Regions from separate parts of the Homo sapiens genome. Here all the other regions are linked to region 2. Evidence: promoter capture Hi-C in human tissues and cell types (Jung and others, 2019). All regions are on one chromosome and are shown on one strand. The core of a region is centred on a gene start or on the middle of the fragment in contact, and the rest is flanking DNA. Distances in the headings are between cores, read along the strand shown. Region 1 overlaps PDS5A (PDS5 cohesin associated factor A). Region 2 holds the start of UGDH (UDP-glucose 6-dehydrogenase). Region 3 overlaps PDS5A (PDS5 cohesin associated factor A). Region 4 overlaps PDS5A (PDS5 cohesin associated factor A). Region 5 overlaps PDS5A (PDS5 cohesin associated factor A). Region 6 has its middle 12 kb from the start of KLHL5. Region 7 has its middle 30 kb from the start of N4BP2.

Region 1 (2,700 bases), core at 156-2,655, 370 kb after region 2:
AGGTACTTAAAAACCCACAAGTATATAACTTTCACAGGAAAGTTACATTGCCAGAAGATTGAAAAAAGATCAATGAAGCAATCAACATATAAACTTATCATATCAGAATTACTATGAAACTACATGCCACAAAAAATTAACTAAAAATATAGAGAAGAAACTTTTTTTTCTGCAATAGAGTTCTGTTAGCTACTTTGTGGCCCGTTACTTAAATACCTTCAGGAAAACCTCCTTTCTAAAACGTACTTCCCTTTCCTGTATCCCATAAAACATTACTTATTAGTTTTCATTTATACTAAATTTGAATAATTTAGTTCAAAAGTTAGAAAACTATGCCCCCATGAGCTACCTGTTTTTGTTAGTAGTTTCGATGGAATATAGTCATGTCCATTCATTTATTTATCGTGTATGACTAATTTTGCAAAGGCAGGGTTGAATATCTGACCACAGACTCTATGCCTTGCAAAATATGTTTTTGCTATCTGTTGATTTATTTTCAAAGTTTGCTAGGCTAGGTGCAGTATCTCACACCTGTAATCCTAGCAATTTGGGAGGCCTAGGCAGGCAGACTGCATGAGCCCAAGATTTTGAGACCAGCCTGGGAAACATGGTGAAAACTCACCTCTACAAAAAACATACAAAACCTAGCTGGGTATGGTGGAGCACACCCGTAGTCCCAGCTATTCAGAAGGCTGAGGTGGGAGGATCACCTCAGCCCAGTGACATCGAGGCTGCAGTGAGCTGTGATCATGCCACTATGCGACAGCCTGGGCAACAGAGTAAGATCCTGTGTATTAAAAAAAAAAAAAAAAAAAAAAAAAAAAGTTTGCCCGCCCCTGTTCCAGCATCCATGTGTCCTTGAGGGGTCTGTTTATATGGTCCCCTGGTTAAGAACACCTATTCTAGTGAACACACGTAAAAATGTAAAGTTTTTTTCCCCAACCTTGCAAAAATTTAATGGCATTTCTTTTTTAGTTTGCCATTGGCATATTTATAGGATTGATATCTGATATTCACTCTACACTGAGAGACCATGAATCATGCAGTGAAAAAGAAATATGATGTTTAATGTAATTTTATCTCAAAATTTAATTCTAATTATTTGAAAATTGATTAACTATAAACTCTTAGTGTCTGAAAACTTTATATAAACTAGAAAACACCATTTCTTTGCTCACACTAGAAAATAAGAGTTTGTTATATTTATTTTAAATGGAAATTTAGCTTGGACAACTACAGAAATTATATTTAACTGACATTTGGAAAATAAAACAACTGAGATACTTTTTCCCTGCTTCATTACGTAGAACTACAGAAAATCTGAACAGTGACTATAATAAACTATGAATTTAAACAAATCATGAACCTACTGTAGGCTGCTTGTGCAAATCCAATAGTTCGCGTACATGGCTCCGAAGCATGTTCTGACACTTCCACATTTCGTTGAGAGCTCTGTAAAGTTATGAATATGAAAACACACATTACATAACAATACTGGAAATTATTCAGCTTTACAACCTTTCTTGTTGCATGCTGTATATACACCATTCTTCTACATCTACCTAAAAGTTTAAATACCGGGAAATATATTTATTAGGATTTAAAACAATTTAGTACAAATGGTAAATATAAGCCTTCTTATGAGAGAAAATATTTGAGAGGTTTAGAAAGATTAATAAGTAATACAGGGATTGAAAGATGTACTAAATACAGGTAGCTAGAAAGTTTTGGTACAAGGAAAGAAAATCTCAAAGTGCAAGGGACATAAAACAAACTGAAAAACATGTATACGCTTGGAGCACAAGGCATGTGTGTGGAGCATAAGGAAGCTGGAGCATTCCACAGACACAGATCAAATCATGAAGGCCTTATTAAAAAGGCTAAGGCATATACATGAAGCACTATAGACTATTTTGAAAAATGAAGTATCAAAAATGATGCAGATTCAAGATGCCAAATTTACATTATTGTGTTTATTCTAAACTTTTCTCTCTCCAGGAACACAGATTTTCTTCTCTCAGAAATCCCATCCATATTTCCAGGTGCCCAGATGACCTCTGAGAATTACTAATCTCTAAACACTCTTTGTCAGATATTTTGAAATGTAAACAAACATCAAAACCTTAAGCAAGGAAAGGGATTAGTAACCATGATACAACACTATCGTAATAGAATTTCTGCCAAAATGACAGTCTTTTTTTCTTTTCTTTCTTTTTTTTTTTTTTTTTTTTGAGACAAGTCTCACTCTGTTGCCCAGGCTGCAGTACAATGGGATAATCTCGGCTCACTGCAACATCTGCCTCCTGGGTTCAAGCAATTCTCCGGCCTCAGCCTCCCTAGTAGCTGGGATTACAGGCGTGCACCACCATGCCCAACTAATATTTTTGTATTTTTAGTAGAGATGGGGTTTCACCATGTTGGCCAGGCTGGTCTCGAACTCCTAACCTCAAATTATCTGCCTGCCCTGGCCTCCCAAAATGCTGGGATTACAGGGGTTAGCCTCCACGTCCGGCCTAAAAATGCAGTCTTAATCTAATAATGCAGGAACACTTGAAGAAGCCACAATGGCAAACAGTCAAATTCCTAACTCAAAATTCTCTCTCTTTTTTAAGACAGAATCTCACTACATTGCCCAGGATGGTCAAGCTTCTAGGCTGAAAAGATCCTTCCATCTTCAGATCAGAATTCTTAATGACATCA
Region 2 (2,700 bases), core at 79-2,578:
CTAACGATGGGCATTATAGTTGGATACATCAGCTTCACACATTTTAATCATTTCCAGAAATTAAACAGTAAAAGATGCCTGACCAGAGAAAAATATTTAATCAGTAAGAAAGCCGGTATTAATTTTATGTCTAAGGGTTATCATGTAAAGCTGTGGAAGTAAACAAGAAGGAAGATGGATTATGCTTATCCAGTTATAGATTTTGTTAGAAAAAGGAGTACAGCAACGGGAGAAGAAATGAGATCTTTTCAATCAGGGTTGTCTACCCCTTACCTTAAACTGGATCCTGGCCACTAATAAGCACATCTCAGAGCAGACAGTCAGCTCTTTCATTTCCAGAACCCCCCTGAAGAAAGACTACTGTTCTCCATTTCTTAAGGGATTTGAAGAAACTCAAAGGCTCACTGTGTCTTTGAGGTCTGTCGATAGACAGCTACTGCTCTGTATGCCCATGAATAGATCCCTACCAGCGAACCCCTCTTTTCTCTATACTAGAATTCCTAACCCTACTAAGTTATCTTCCTATATATTTATAGGACGTATAATTTTTCAAGATCTCACACAAACATGGTCTCCCGAGGCACCCAGGAAAGGCCTTCCCCGACATCAAACAGAGCAATTCTGTGGTGTAGGGGGCCAACAATGGATTCCAGGACATCCCGGACAGATATCACGGCAGTCTTAGTATTTTGCTCTCAAGAGGGCTTTCTGGCTTCGTTTCTCTTTGGTTTCTTAAGAGGGGCGGCATGAGAAAAGCAGGAGCCCCTCAGGTGAGCAGACTCTTAAACACAAACAAAAGACTACGACTCTGCGGCCAAAATGAGGTCCCCAACGAGAGAACCGCTTCCTGTGGTGGGCGTTCGGCTTTGGAGGCGGCAGGGAAATCTCATCCAAGTCAGGAAAGTGGGTAAAGGCAGAAAGAGAAGGGGCTGGAAGACTCACGAGTCTTGAATAAGAAGCCCAGACGACCACATCCCCAGGACAGCAGTTCCAAAATGCGGTTCCCGCCCTAAGCCCCAAAGAGACGAAGGTCGTGAGACGGGAAGCCCGGGACCCAGCGCAGCGAGCGACCGGGAGCAGCGCGCACACCCCAGCCCCGCTCCCTCCACATCCCGCCCAGACCTGGGAGCATCCCGCCCGGGCGGCGGGGCCAGCCTGGGAGCGGCGCTTACCCACTTCCCAGCAGCAAGCGCAGGGACCGCTCCTATCCCGATCGTTCGGACAGCACCTTCCTACGGGCCGCGCCGCCGCAGCTTCTCCACCCGCGCCCCGCTCGATCTGAGCTCCCTCTCGGCGCACGCCCCTCCCTCAGGCTGCCACGCGTTACACTCTGAGTCCCGGGCCTGAGCCCGTATTTAAAGGCTTTTGCCTGCGAAGGCGGAGGCTTCATTCCCCCGCAGCCAGGCCCTCCTGGATTCTGCCCTCAGCTGCTTCCTAGCTCCCCCTCCCGCTACACAAGGCCCAGGGCCAGGTCCCTATTTCCTTCACGGCTCAGGGGCGGGGAGACTGGGGCTGGTCCTGGCTGGGAGGGCCTGCCCCGCCCCTGGCCTAGCTGGGCAAATCCGCTTTGGCCAGCTCAGCGGCTCCGCCCCTACCGCGAGCGGCGCTGGGCGGGGCTGCGTGCGTGGCGTGTCCGCTGGACCAGGGGACGGGGGCGCGCCGCAGGTGTAGGAGCTTTGCGCGCCTACCTGGCGGTCGTGGGTCGAGGAGGGGTCAAGAATTGTTGTCTAGCAGCCCTCTCCCCGCTGCCCTGTCCTGGCCGAGGCAAAGGCCGCGTGCGCTCCGCGTCTGCCAGGCTTTAGGGCTGCGCGGACACTGGGTGGGTGGTGGGCCGAGGCGACCGGAAGGTCCTGGCCGCCTTTCCGGTCTCCTCAGCACCCTGGAGCGCCGCCCTCGGGTTTCGGTCTCCTGGATCTGCGGGTCGGTCTCGGCGGGCGGATTACTCCTCGCCCACAACCTCGAGGCCCCGGGGTCAACCGCGCCCTCCGGGCCGGCAACCCAGGGTTTAGTCAGATTCCTCCTGACCCACCGCTTCTGGGAAAGAGGCGCCTCCCGTCAGGAGGATGCTGAGTTCCTCATGACTGGACCAGTGAGTGTCCACTCCCTGGTCCCTGGCGAGAGAGGCGGGACCCCCACGCCCTCCTGGCGCTCTTTGCAGAGATGTTCCTCAGGCCCAATCCGGGATTTGGGATGTCTGTGCGTGCTGTGGAGCAGAGAGTTTGCAACATGTAAGTGCCGTGCGTGAGGAAGAGTAAAATTAACCTATGGAGCCTGCTCATTTTTAATGTGGAGGGCAGTTCCGTTCCTTTCTTTCGCCGCTTCGAGGTCATTTTAACACTCAAATCTAACATATAAGAAAAAAAGCCAGGCATAATCATGGCCTTTTATTTCCCTCATTAAGGATTACATCAGGTGACATAAGCCATTTTAACATACATCATGAAGAAAGTGATTAGTAATTTATAAAGGCACATTAAAATACCATATAAATTACGGTTTTCTTGATAGGATCATGATGGTGACTTTAAGAAAGTGGTTGAATGTGGATGAAACAGTTTGCTGTGGATTGTAGCACGTGTGGCAGGATATGTAGGCTTGTTGGTTGGTTGTTTTGAGACGGAGTCTCCCTCTTGTCGCCGAGGCTGGAGTGCAGTGGTGCGATCTCGGCTCACCTCAACCTCCTCCTTCCAGATTCAAACG
Region 3 (2,700 bases), core at 6-2,505, 350 kb after region 2:
ACTAAAATTTAGCAAGATTGAAAGAATGTAGAAAAAAGATAAAAGAAAAAATAAAATCCAACAAAAAGAAGTTTAAAGAAAAACATTTTTGCTTCATCAAATCAGCATTATTTTTGACTAATCTACAACAATGGATTTGCTATACCAGTGGTTTTCTTACCCTGTGGAAGCATTTTAAATGACCTTAAATCATACAAAGTAAGAGTTCACTGGGTTTTGGTCACACTATCTCCAATTTATGATAATAGGAATACATTTCTAATAGTAAAATGAGGCCAGTCATTATATGTAAAAAAAAGGGAAACAGGATTAATTTTCAGGTAGGGTTCTTAGGTACTTTAAACTGGATTGTTCAAAATTATCTACTAATACTTTCCGAGGATAAATGCACCACTGAACCAATAAGGCTAAAATTAAGTAAAATGTTCTAACATAAACACATAAGGCTAGGTGTGGTGGCTCATGTGTGTAATCCTAGCACTTTGAAAGACTGAAGTGGGTGGATCGCTTCAGTCCAGGAGTTTGAGACCAGCCTGGGCAACATGGCAAAACCCCATCTCTATAAAAAAATCCAAAAATTAGCTAGGCATGGTGGTGGTGCCTGTACTCTCAGCTACTTGGGAGGCTGAGGCAGAAGGACTGCTTGAACCTAGGAATTCGGGGCTGCAGTGAGCAGAGATTGCATCACTGTACTCCAGCACTGGTGAGAAAGTGAAACTTTATCTCAAAAACAAACTAAAAAACAAAAACCACAAAACCCTTCAATATGAGGTGTTTGAACATATAATCTGATCTACAGGCTGGGAATGCAGTACCACATAAAATAGACAGAATCCTTGCTCACAAGGAATTTATAGTCTAAGGTAGGACTTCATATAAACAGCTTTAAAAAATCTAGCTTCCATCTTCATCAAACTATAGAGCTTAAAAAATAAAGACCAATATAAACACAACCTATATATTAGATATACCTCAAAAATCTGTGCAAGCTGGACTTCTTTATTTGTGAATATGGCGTGTATACAGTGCACAGCCTGTTTTGCTTGGTGTGGAGTACCCCTCTTTGCTTTTTGATGTAAAATGGGAATTAAGGTCCTGCAAAAAATAATATAGTTGTTTTTTTTTCTTAAACCCATAAACCAACAAGTATTCCTTTGGTTGACTTCCACTTCCCCTATATGGATGGATGCTAGTAGAGAAGGCTCTCTTAAAAATTATCTGATCTAAAGAAAGTTGTAAAAAAGCTCCATCTCTGCCCCCAAGTATAAACCAAGAAATACAATGCCTCAAGAAAAAGCCTACTTCAGGAGACAATTTTTATTTTAAAGTTACCTCACAAATATGCAAAATAACAAGCAACCCTTAATTCATAATCTAAAGCTTACCCCATGACATATTTTTGCATTTACCTTCTAAGTAGCAATATTGCTAATTTTTCAATTCCCTTTTATAATCCCCTTCAGTTATTTCAAAGTAGCTACAGAAAGAGAGTAGCAAAAGGCCAAGTTGTATTAAACAGCTGAAATAATACTAGTGAAAGAAAGTATGCAAAGATACAGCTACATATATATCAGTAGAATGGCAATAAAAATATCTAACTATTATGTGCCAGGCACCATTCTAGGTATTTCCGCATGGATTAATTCAACTAATGTTCACATCCACCCAAAGAAGACTATCATAGTCATTACACAGATGAGAAAATTAAAGCACAAAGATGTTATTTAAGCCTCCTAAGATGACGAAGCTAGGAAACTGGGAGTTGGGATTTGAAAATTAGCATTTCTTTCAAAATCCACATACTTAACCTCTACACTGACAATGAAGAGTAAACTAAAACAGTCTTCTTTTAGGATGACAGAAAAACATAAAGCATTCTTCAAAAATTAAATGTTGATGACATGAAAAAGCATTAGGTAGAATGAAGAAAATAGTGTGCATATATGAACTTATAAAAAATAGACAAACACATCTAGTAGATGAACATTCATAGAAAGTATATATATCAAATGTTAATGGTGACTATTTCGTTATATTTTTTCTAGTTTCAGTTTGCTACAATGAACGTAAGTATTTTTATAATCAGAATAAAATTGATAAAACGAAACAAACATTTAAGGAAAGATATTTGTCATATATTTAATGTTATTAGAGAAGAGCCTATTTTATAAAGTTAGTGGCATCAAATGCAAGGGTGACAATGCCCTCTTATGATAATGGAAGGCTACATATGAAACCTATACTGCAGGCTCCAGGCCATGCACTTTAACCAAAAATGGGAACATATGCTAGTTGGTATGAATCTGATTTGACATGTATAAATATGCCTGAAGTTTGCCTCTATGGACTTTGGAATTATGAGATAGGGATGTCCATGACCAAACAGACTTCCTTGACTGAGTATTGACTATGCTTCTAAATGGAAGATGTCTTTCCTCTCTCCTATCTGTTTAGTCTTTCACCATTCCATTTACCAGACTGAGATTTCTTATAACACTGGTGAATGACAAAGGAAGATAGTTTCAATCAAACTGTTGTTAAATGTATTATTATTATTAGCCAAATAAAATAATACAGAAAGTCAACTTTAACCTTTCTTCTTGTTTTTTCTAGAGCAGTATAATCTAGTGATGCCATCAGAGTTGTTATTGAGGTCTTTAGCATTGTGCTTTTCTGCTTTCCAGTGATTATCTCCTTTCT
Region 4 (2,700 bases), core at 65-2,564, 420 kb after region 2:
GACTGAGGCAGATAACTTGAACCGGGAGGCGGAGGCTGCAGTGAGCCAAGATCATGCCACTGCACTCCAGTCTGGGTGAGAGAGAGACTGTCTGAAAGGGGGGAAAAAAAAGAGAGAGGAAACATGAAATAAACATGAGGGAGTAAACCTGCTTTCTAACAGTAGTGTCCAATCCTTTGGCTTCCCTGGGCCACACTGGAAGAAGAATTGTCTTGGACCACACATAAAGTACACTAACACTAATGATAGCTAATAACCTTAAAACAAACAAAAAAAATTGCACAATAGTCTCATAATGTTTTAAGAAAGTTTATGAATGTGTGTTGGGCCACATTCAAAGCCATCCTGGGTCACATGTGACCCACGGGCTGTGAGTTGGACCAAGCTTGTTTATAAGAACCCACTTTTTGGGTAACTAATCCAGTCCCAGAAGAGTGAGAACTCACTCTCACAAGATGGCATTATCTATTCATGAGGGACTGGCCCCATGATGGAACACCTCCCAGTAGGCCCCAATTCCCAACACTGCTGCAATGAGAACCAAACTTCAACATAAGTTTTGGTGAGGACAAACCTTATCCAAATAATGGCAATGTCCACACAAAAATTTGCACATAAGCCAGGAATGGTGGCTCACTCCCATGATCTTAGCAATTTGGAAAGACAAGGAGGGAGGATGCCTTGAGACAAGGAATGCAAGACTAGCCTGGGCAACAACTGCAAGACCCCATTTCTACTAAAGATTTAAAAATTAGCTGGGTATGGTAGCACGTACCAGTAGTCTCAGCTACTTGAAAGACTGAGGCAGCAGGATTCCTTAAGCTCAGGAGGTAGGCAACACAGCAAGATATCCCGTCTCAAAAAAAAAAAAAAAAAAAGAAAGAAAGAAAAAGAAAAGAGAAATTTGCACAAGAATGTTTATAGCAGCATTATTCACAATAGCCAAAAGGTGAATCAAACCTTTTTTTTTTTTTTTTTTTTTTTGAGATGGAGTCTTGCTCTGTCACCCAGGCTGGAGTGCAATGGTGCGACCTCGGCTCACTGCATTACTGCAACCTCCGCCTCCCGGGTTCAAGCAATTCTCTGCCTCAGCCTCCCGAGTAGCTGGGTTTATAGGCGCCTACCACCAGGCCCTGCTAATTTTTGTATTTTTAGTAGAGATGGGGTTTTACCATCTTGGCCAGGCTGGTCTTGAACTGCTGACCTCATGATCCACCTGCCTCGGCCTCCCAAAGTGCTGGGATTACACGTGTGAGCTACCACGCCTGGATTTTTTTTTTTTTTTTTTTTAAAGACCGAGTCTCACTCTGCTGCCCAGGCTGGAGTGCAGTGGTGCCATCTCAGCTCACTGCAACCTCTGCCTCCTGGCTTCAAGCAATTTTCCTGCCTCAGCCTCCTGAGTAGCTGGGATTAAAGGCATGTGCCACCATGCCCGGATAATTTTTCTATTTTTAGTTGAGATGGCATTTCACCATGTTGGCCAGGCTGGTCTTGAATTCTTGACCTCAGATTATCTGCCCACCTTGGCCTCCCAAAGTTCTGGAATTAGAGGTGTGAGCCACTGAGCCCAGCCCAACCCCATTTATTATCAACTAACAAACGGATAAACAAAATTTGGTACACCTATACACTACAGTATTATCTGGCCATAAAAGGTATAATGAAAGCCAGGCATGGTGGCTCACACCTGTAATCACAGTACTTTGGGAGACCAAGGCCAGAGATCACCTGAGCACAGGATTTTGAGACTGGGCAACATAGTGAAACCCTGTCTCTACAAAAAACACCAAAAAAAAAAAAGATAGCCAGGTGTGGTGGCACATGTCCATAGTCCCAGCTACTCAGGAAGCTGAGGCAGGAGGATTGCTTGAATGCGGGAGGTCGAGGCTTCAGTGAACCCAGATGGAGCCACTACATTTTAGCGTGGATGAAAGAGCAAGAACCTATCTCAAAAAAAAAAAAAAAAAAAAGAACTGATGGTATGACTGGGCGAAATGTTATGCTAACTGAAATATGCCAGCCACAACAGACCACTTGCTTATGATTCCATTTATATGAAATGTCCAGATCGGGGAAATGTACATAGACAAAAAGTAGGTTAGTGATTCCTTAGGACTGTGGGGAGGAATATGAGGGTAATAGCTAATGGACACAGGGACTTCATTTTGAGATGATAACTGTTCTAAAACTGACTACGAGCTGGTCAAAGTGGCTCACACAATCCCAGCCCTTTGGGGTTCTGAGGCAGGTGGATGGATCATTTGAGCCCAGGAGTTCAAGACCGGACTGGGCAACAGGTGAAACCCCATCTCTAAAAAAAAAAGTTTCAACAATTAGCTTGGCATGGTGGCGCACACCCGGCTACGCAGGAGGCTGGGGTGGCACAATCACTGAACTTGCAGGGGCCAGGGCTGCAGTGCATTGCACCACTGCACTCCAGCCAGGGCGACAGAATAAGACTCTGTCTCAGAAAAAAAAAAAAAAGAAAAACACCACAAAAAACCTGACTGTGGCAATCACTGCAAGCATTTGTGATGATACTAAAAACAACCATACATTTTATTTTATTTTTGAGACAGAGTTTGCTCTTGTTGCCCAGGATGGAGTGTAATGGCATGATCTCGGCTCACCACAACCTCCACCTCCCGAGTTTAAGTGATTCTCCTGCCTCAGCCTCCAGAGTAGCTGGGATTACAGGCA
Region 5 (2,700 bases), core at 173-2,672, 390 kb after region 2:
GCTTCAGAGACAGAGTGAGACTCCGTCTCAAAAAAAATTTTTTTTTCATAAAGTATGTGGGAAAATAGTTATAAATATGAGCAAATGAACAATGGAATTAGTTGCTATAAGGTAGTGAGATTGCAAACTTTTTTTTCCAAATTATTGATTTTTTTAGGAAAAACAAACCCAGAACAAATTCCTCAGTAAACCTTTTTTTAACTATTACTATGTAGCAACTATCACAATCTTTCATTACTGAAAAGTATTTAAATCTTTGCCAAAAACAACAGGCAAAACAACCAAACCATTTTCTAAATAAATCTCTGTAATCTTAAAAAAATAAAATAAAAAAAAAAGGAAGAAACATTACAGGACTTCAGAAGAATGACCCAAAAGAAACAAAGAAAAAAATATATAGAGAGAGACACAGAGACCCAAGGAAAATATGAAAGAGATCAGCATATCTGGGAGACAATGAAATAAACATAAATACAAATGCAGATAAGGGGATGGGAGTTGCAGACGACTTTTCTTATAGTAATATCCACCCTTTAAAAACGTCATGAAACTTATGCTGCATTTCTCTAACCCTGGTCACATCTGGACATAAGTTATTTTATATTTATAAGCTAAATAAACTTTTATGTAAGAGGTTCTAATAAATTAATACAATGGATTAAGAATTACAAAATATAGAATAAACATAGAAAGAAATACATACATTAGCAATGCATGCCTCAATAGTCTGGACTGTTCTTTTCAATAGCACTTTTGCAAGGTCAAAGGACTGTTTATTTAAGTTCTGAAAAATAATAAAAACATGGAAAGTTACAAATAAATGTTAATTTATGAGATAGTAACATTAGAATACTGTAGTCTTCAAATCTGTAATAAAATATGAATTTTGCTTCACTAAAATATGAAGCAAAAATAAAAATAACTGAGTTCTCTTCAAGGTTTTGCCAAATATCCTCTAGTCAAGTGATCTTAAATGCAGACGTTGCAAATCGAACTAATTTATTAATCAAAAACTAAAATGGGTTAGTTAGCAAAAGCACAACACTATATTGTTTTATTAAACTCAAAACAGACCTAATGCTTTTTGGTTTTATCTGTTAACCAATGTAAACTGACAACTACACCCACGTATCTTAAACACATACACTCCCTGATCTAACACAACATGCTCAATTATTTCATTGTTTAATCAATGCGTGCTCTGGAGAAGAGTAGACCTGGTAAGCGTTTCAAATAAAAAGCGTTCTTGATCAATTGTATTTTTGAAATGCTTAATACTATGCTCCCGTTTCAAGAGTCCCAATGTACTCAAATAAATTAAAGGATCTGAGAAGGACCTTAGAAAATATATTATTTAATTTTTTTTAAATGCCTGAAAAGGGAATTCTTGTTTTGAATAATACCTATTAACATTGCTATATCTTGAAGTTTTGGATCAAACAGATTCATTCACCATCATCTAACACCTCTTCCAAAACAAGGCTAGGAAACCCTACACTCTAGGCCAGGGGTCAGCAAACTTTTTCTATGAAGGGCCACATGGTAAATATTTTAGGTTTTGTGGGTCATACAAATCACTGCAACAACTACACAACTCTGCTGTTGTAGCATGAAAGCAGATATAAACAAAACGAAAACGAATGAACATGGCTGTGTTCCAATAAAATCTTACTTACATAAATAAGCAATAGTCCAAATCTGATCAACAAGCCATAGCTTCTTGACCCCTGCTCTATACTTTTATTTCATTGGCAAAGGATAAGATTTGCTTAAAATTAAGTTAACATTTCTATTTCTTAAAAGAAGTCTATTTCCTACTACTAATAAAAATGCTCTCAAGCCAGATGTGGTTGCTCATGCCTGTAATCTCAGCACTTCGGGAGGCTAAAACGGGCAGATCGCTTGAGCCCAGGAGTTTGAGATAAGCCTGGGCAACATAGCGAAACCCTGTTTCTACAAAGAAAACTTAAAAAAAAAAAAAAAAAAAAAAGCCAGGTATGGTGGCACATGCCTGTATTGCCAGCTACTTGGGAGGCTGAGGTAGGAGGATCACTTGAGCCCAGGAGACAGAGGCGGCAATGAGCCAAGATAGTGCCGCTGCACTCCAGCCTAGGTGACAGAGTGAGACCCTGTCCCAAAAAAATACCACCAACCTACTTACCTAGTATATAAAAACCAAATATACTGTCTTAATCTGCCAAAATATACTCTCCTTTGCCATAGTCTCAGAATTTTTATAAACTACAGAATTTTGTAAACTACATTTGAATTAATAAAATGTAAATAATATTTAAACTCGAGAAGAATTTAAAATTAATTATATCTTTCTGTGAATGAGTATAATTGGACAGATTTTTCCTCTAATGTCTGATAACAGGATACTGAACCACTAGAAGAAAAGAGCAGGAGAGCAAATATCAACATTGGGGTAGGCCTGAGTAGAGCCCAGTGGTGGAGCCTGAGGGCAGCCAAGTCCTTCAGATTCTTAGGAGGATCTGGTGGAGATAAATAGAAAAAGGAAACAGGGAAGAATGATACACCTTTGAATCATCCTTTTCTTCTTAACATTAACCATATAGCTTCTGCCCAAATCTTTTTCTGAGAGTACCTAAGAAAAAGGTACGATACGGATTCTGAAAAGAAATCCAAACTCCTATGTTTCACATCTATGTTAAAAAGGAGGAAATACATTTCTTTTCC
Region 6 (2,700 bases), core at 123-2,622, 480 kb before region 2:
GATTACAGGCGCCCACCACCATGCCTGGCTAATTTTTGTATTTGTAGTAGAGACGGGGTTTCATCATGTTGACCAGCCTGATCTCCAACTCCTGACCTCATGATCCACCTGCCTCAGCCTCCCAAAGTGCTGGGATTACAGGTGTGAACCACCGCGCCTGGTGTACATTGGCTCTTCAGGGCTTCTGTCTGGAAGTGACACTTAACTTCCACTGCTATTTCATTGGCCAAAAGTCACTTGACTACACCCAACTTCAAGGAGATGGGGAAATGCATTTCTACCATGTGCCCAGAAAGAGGAGAACTGGAATAGTCTGTGAACGGTCTTAATGACTACTAAAGAGGCTTCAGAGTCCCATGAGCTAACACAGAATCTAAATAAATCAAAAGCCAAATATGTCAGTACAGTATTCTATTTAGAAAATAGAAAACAGCATTTCTTTGTGTATGTGAGTGTGTTTAAACAGAATTATGCTAATGAGAATTATGAAGAATGTCTTTTATTAGTTTGAAATGAAATGCTTTTGAGAACTTCACAATTAAGTTTGTTATTTTGGCCAAATGAATTTCATTCTTTTTAAATTGTATGTCCATTCAATAAACATTTGTTGAATGTGTATAAGGGGCCAGGTGTAGTGGCTCAAGACTGTGCAGTCCCAGCACTTTGGGAGGCCAAGGTGGGAGGATTCTTCAGTCCAGGAGTTTTGAGACCAATCTGGACAACGTAGTGAGACCCTATGCCTACAAAAAATAAATAAAATTAGCTGGGTGTAGTGGCATGTGTCTCCAGTCCGAGCTTCCTTGGGGGCGGGGGTAGGGAGGTGAGATGATTGATCATTTGTGCTTGGCAGGTCAAGGCTGCAGTGAGCCATGATCAGGCCACTGCCCTCCAACCTACGGGACAGCAAGACCTTGTCTCAAAAATAAATAAATAAAAAATAAATAAATAAATAAATAAATGAAAGTGTATAAGGCACTGTGTTAGGCCTGTGAGGATAAAAAGATAAATGAGGGTCGGGCATAGTGGCTCACGCTTTTAATCCCAGCACTTTGGTAGGCTCAGGTGGGCAGATCACCTGAGGTCAGGAGTTCGAGACCAGCCTGGCCAACATGGTGAAACCACATCTCTACTAAAATTACAAAAAATATTAGCTGGGCATCATGGTGCACGCCTGTAATCCCAGCTACTCCAGAGGCTGAGGCAGGAGAATCGCTTGAACCCGGGAAGCAGAGGTTGCGGTAAGCTGACATCACGCCACTGCACTTCATCCTGGGCGACAGAGTGAGACTCCATCCCAAAAATAAATAAATAAATAAGTGGGGAGTTTACAATCACAATAGAAAATAGCTATACTTGAGTTTTCTCTCCCTTTCTCTTTAAGGCATCATTTACAGTATGTAAATGATGTGTATACACACATATATAAAATAGTGAAAAATACTAAATATATAAACTGTTACACTTTGTTCCTCTCTGCCTTTTTGGACTTAAGGAGTATTTCATGACAAATTAAACAATGTTACTTAAATTAGCATAAGCAAAAGAAATGTTATGTTAGAAAAGGAATATAGTTTGTATCAGAGTCCAAGGGCAAGAAGTACAGCTGGGCCTCAAAGCAACTGGCACCAATAACAGAAAGCTAGGAGCTAGGGCTACTTTCTCTCTCTCCAAGTCTATATGATTTCTTGCTAGTGTCTCTCTCTGCACATGTATTTCTTTCTTCTTTTTCTCTATTGATTAATTTTTCTCTATTTTGCTGTTACATGGATGTTTTAATCTAAGAGTTTATGAACTTGAAACTAGAGGCTTTAACAATTTCAGACAATCTAAAAATGTTTAAGTGCATTGTCTTTGTAAGCTCTTAACCACCAGACTTAGGAAATAATGCAGTTGACTCTAAGGTATAACAAATTAGTGTAATTGACAACTTTATAGTAGAGAAAGAGGCAGTTATAATAGCTTTCAATCAAAGAAACCGAGGTGCCATGGAAAGTTCTACACAATTAACATGAGCTTGCAAATTCTAGTGAGACAGGCTGATTATGATAATCAGGATAAGAAGGTATAACTGGATCTGACTTAAGTAACTACGATATTCCCTCCCTGAACACTGGCAAATGCCATCTCCATTGTAATCCTTTCATCCATCCCTTCTTCCTCTCCCAGGGTAAGGATTGACTGAATTGTCTAACTCTTATAAGTCATCTGCTTTGATCCTGATACAGAGCTTCCTGGCTTCTCCTCATGGGTAATAATGCAGGAAGAACGGCACATGTAATATACTACCTAGCTCTGCTCTTTTCTTCCATCCAAACTGGTCTCCTAGACACTCTTTATCTGGACATTTTACATTTTAACATGCTATTATCATATCTCTTCACCAATTTAATCTAATTTTATTCTCAATAAATTTCTATCATTTTCTGTTAGACTCGTGTATGTAGCTTCACTAGCAGAATTCCCTTGCATTTTCAAACTACGCGATAATCTCCTTTCTTCCTGTTTGAAAAATATCCATAGCTTCACCTCATCAGTGGCCGAAGAGATTAACTATGGGGAGATGGTATATGTTACCTGAAGAGGATTTCCCAGAAAAAAAAAAAAAACAAGAATATGAGTAAAAGCTGTGTATGAGATTAGATTCAGGTTGTAGAATATCTGGAATGTCATATTAAGACTCTTAGACACTTGTTTCTGTGC
Region 7 (2,700 bases), core at 46-2,545, 500 kb after region 2:
AGACCAGCCCGGCCAACATAGTGAAATCCCATCTCTACTAAAAATTCAAAAAAAATTAGCCAGGTGTGGTGGCACACGCCTGTAATTCCAGCTTCTCTGGAGGCTGAGGCAGAAGAATTACTTGAACCTGGGAGGCAGAGGTTGCAGTGATTCGAGATCGCGCCATTGCATTCCAGCCCGTGTGACAGAGCGAGACTCCATCTCAAAAAACAAAACTAAACATAAATGCACTGTAACTTTGTCATACAAGGGAATATGAAAAGTAGTCAAATGGACTAAAGTTACCTATACAAACATGGAAAAATGTAAAAATTACCTCAAAATGGATTATAGATTTAGATGTGAAATGTAAAACTATAAGCTTTTAGAAGAAAACATAGGAGAAAATCTTCAAGACCTGTGCCTTGTTGAGGAATTCTTAGATGTGACACCAAAAGCACAATCCATAAAAAAACTGATAAATTGGACTTCATCAAAATTAAAAACTTTTGTTGTGATTTACCAATCACATATCTGATAAAGGACTCATATCTAGACTATACGAAGAATTTTCAACTCAACAGTAAATAAACAAAAACAAAACCAATTAGAAAATGAGTAAAACCCAGCCAGGCATGGTGGCTCACACTGGTAATCCCAGCACTTTGGGAGGCCAAGGTAGGAGGATTCCTTGATCCCAGGAGTTTGAGACCAGCCTAGACAACATTAATGAGACCCTCACCTCTACAAAAAATTAAAAAATTTAGCCAGGTGTAGTGACACACAACTGTAGTCCCAGCTTGGAAGGTTGAGGTGGGAGGATCACTTTAGCCCAGGAGGTTGAGGCTGCAGTTAACTGTGATCGTGCCACTGCACTCCAGCCTGGGTAACAGAGCAAGACTTTGTCTCAAAAAAATTAAAAAATTGGCCAGGCACAGTGACTCATACCTGTAATCCCTGCATTTTGGGAGGCTGAGGCGGGCAGATCACTGGAGGTCAGGAGTTCAAGACCAGCCTGTCCAACATGGTGAAAGCCTGTCTCTGCTAAAAATACAAAAATTGCCGGGCATGGTGGTGCTTGCCTGTAATCCCAGCTACTTGGGAGGCTGAGGCAGGAGAATTGCTTGAACCTGAGAGATGGAGGTTGCAGTGAGTTGAGATCGTGCCACTGCACTCTAACCTGGGTGACAGAGTGAGACTCTGTTTCAAAAAAGAAAAAAAGAAAGAAGAAAGGAGGACTCCAGGAGAGAATGAAAGTTGTGTTATGGTTGTCGGAAACTAAAACTAAATGCCCTGTAGAATTATCAATCATGTAAATCCAGAAACAGGCAATCCAGCTCATTTTGAGGAAATTACATAACTGGAATCAGGCCTTATGTATCCCTTTGAGACTGGCTTTTTCAGGCTGCATAATGCCCTAGAAAGCCACCTAAGTTTTTGCATGTATCAATAGGTTGTTCTTTTTTAATGCTGGGTATTCCATGGTATGGATGTACCACAGTCTATTTAACCATTCACCATTTTTTTAAAAACTATTTATTTATTTTATTTTGAGATGGAGTCTCGCTCTGTCACCCAGGCTGGAATGCAGTGGCACGATCTCGGCTCACTGCAACTTCTGCCTCCCAGGTTCAAGCGACTCTCCCACCTTAGCCTTCTGAGTAGCTGGGATTACAGGCGTGCGCCACCACACTCAGCTAATTTTTGTATTTTTAGTAGAGACAGAGTTTCACCATGTTGGCCAGGCTGGTCTCAAACTCTTGACCTCAAGTGATCCACCTGCCTTGGCTTCCCAAAGTGCTGGGATTACAGATGTGAACCACCATGCCCTGCTCGGTCTCTGTCTTTACTGTTGAAAGCTTTCCTCAAAGGTCTGATGATCCTTGAATATTTGGTCAGATTTTTAACTGAACCACTGCATAGCTGACTGGAAGCTCTGTGTGAGTGGGCAGGTCTTGTCAACTTGTGAGCTTATTTTTAGATTCCCTAGGTAGTCAGCCAGCTTTTGTGTTCAGGTATGTGTGTGGTACCCCAAATGACAGTATGTGTAGGTATTTTCTCTGTAGCAATTTACTTTATCTGGAGAAAAACTAATTTTCTGCTTGGCTATTGGCTTTGTAGCACTGGACTGAGGAATCTCACAGTTCAATATGTAGACCTTTTTTTGTTAAAAAAAAAAAAAGCAAGTACTACTAAACTAATCTTCTGCCTGGCTATTGGCTCTGTAGCACTGGACTGAGGAATTTCACAGTTCAATATGTAGACTTTTTTCCTTATTTTTTTTTCTGAGATGGAGTCTTGTCTGTCGCCCAGGCTGGAGTGCAGTGGCACGATCTTGGCTCACTGCAACCTCCGCCTCCTGGGTTCAAGCGATTCTCCTGCCTCAGCCTCCTGAGTAGCTGGGATTACAGGTGCACACCACCATGCCTGTCTAATAAAAATTAGACATTTTTAGTAGAGACGAGGTTTTACCATGTTGGTCAGGCTTGTGTTGAACTCCTGACCTTGTGATCCGCCCACCTTGGCCTCTATGCCTGGATGCCCTTTTTTTGTTAAAAAAAAAAAAAAAGAAAAAGAAAACAAAGCAAGTACTCTGGAAACTCTGTAGACTTTTTTTTTTTTTTTTTGAGATGGAGTCTCACTCTGTTGCCCAGGCTGCAGTACAGTGGCATGATCTCAGCTGACTGCAACCTCTTGCCTCCTGGGTTCAAGCAATTCTCC

The links. Contacts are between HindIII fragments. The study calls those that stand out against the background at their distance.
Region 1: a fragment that was not itself captured here is called in contact with the fragment with the promoter of UGDH in region 2 in 2 of the 25 tissues and cell types used here (mesenchymal stem cells and small bowel).
Region 3: a fragment that was not itself captured here is called in contact with the fragment with the promoter of UGDH in region 2 in 3 of the 25 tissues and cell types used here (IMR-90 fibroblasts, lymphoblastoid cells and mesenchymal stem cells).
Region 4: a contact is called between a fragment that was not itself captured here and the fragment with the promoter of UGDH in region 2, in 1 of the 25 tissues and cell types used here (aorta).
Region 5: a contact is called between a fragment that was not itself captured here and the fragment with the promoter of UGDH in region 2, in 1 of the 25 tissues and cell types used here (thymus).
Region 6: a contact is called between a fragment that was not itself captured here and the fragment with the promoter of UGDH in region 2, in 1 of the 25 tissues and cell types used here (hippocampus).
Region 7: a contact is called between a fragment that was not itself captured here and the fragment with the promoter of UGDH in region 2, in 2 of the 25 tissues and cell types used here (lymphoblastoid cells and mesenchymal stem cells).

What each region holds. Positions count from the first base shown.
Region 1 is chr4:39,899,056-39,901,755 of GRCh38, forward strand. It overlaps PDS5A (PDS5 cohesin associated factor A), which reads right to left. Exons shown (of 33, transcript NM_001100399.2): 14 at 1,371-1,452. Among named protein-coding and RNA genes, the nearest start is that of PDS5A, 78 kb to the right of the region's middle. The HindIII fragment of the contact is 3,713 bases long and covers 1-2,700 here.
Region 2 is chr4:39,526,111-39,528,810 of GRCh38, forward strand. UGDH (UDP-glucose 6-dehydrogenase) reads right to left here and starts at 1,329. Exons shown (of 12, transcript NM_003359.4): 1 at 1,173-1,329. It overlaps UGDH-AS1 (UGDH antisense RNA 1), which reads left to right and starts at 1,729. Exons shown (of 5, transcript NR_047679.1): 1 at 1,729-2,228. RefSeq lists silencers at 1,044-1,223, 1,474-1,773 and an enhancer at 2,154-2,213. The HindIII fragment of the contact is 14,033 bases long and covers 1-2,700 here.
Region 3 is chr4:39,873,318-39,876,017 of GRCh38, forward strand. PDS5A (PDS5 cohesin associated factor A) reads right to left here. Exons shown (of 33, transcript NM_001100399.2): 20 at 972-1,095. Among named protein-coding and RNA genes, the nearest start is that of PDS5A, 100 kb to the right of the region's middle. The HindIII fragment of the contact is 9,111 bases long and covers 1-2,700 here.
Region 4 is chr4:39,947,352-39,950,051 of GRCh38, forward strand. All of the region lies in intron 2 of PDS5A (PDS5 cohesin associated factor A), which reads right to left. Among named protein-coding and RNA genes, the nearest start is that of PDS5A, 29 kb to the right of the region's middle. The HindIII fragment of the contact is 7,039 bases long and covers 1-2,700 here.
Region 5 is chr4:39,919,616-39,922,315 of GRCh38, forward strand. PDS5A (PDS5 cohesin associated factor A) reads right to left here. Exons shown (of 33, transcript NM_001100399.2): 7 at 704-784. Among named protein-coding and RNA genes, the nearest start is that of PDS5A, 57 kb to the right of the region's middle. The HindIII fragment of the contact is 5,182 bases long and covers 1-2,700 here.
Region 6 is chr4:39,048,779-39,051,478 of GRCh38, forward strand. It overlaps a transcript of KLHL5 not described here. Among named protein-coding and RNA genes, the nearest start is that of KLHL5, 12 kb to the right of the region's middle. The HindIII fragment of the contact is 3,232 bases long and covers 1-2,700 here.
Region 7 is chr4:40,025,008-40,027,707 of GRCh38, forward strand. No RefSeq gene overlaps it. Among named protein-coding and RNA genes, the nearest start is that of N4BP2, 30 kb to the right of the region's middle. The HindIII fragment of the contact is 3,515 bases long and covers 1-2,700 here.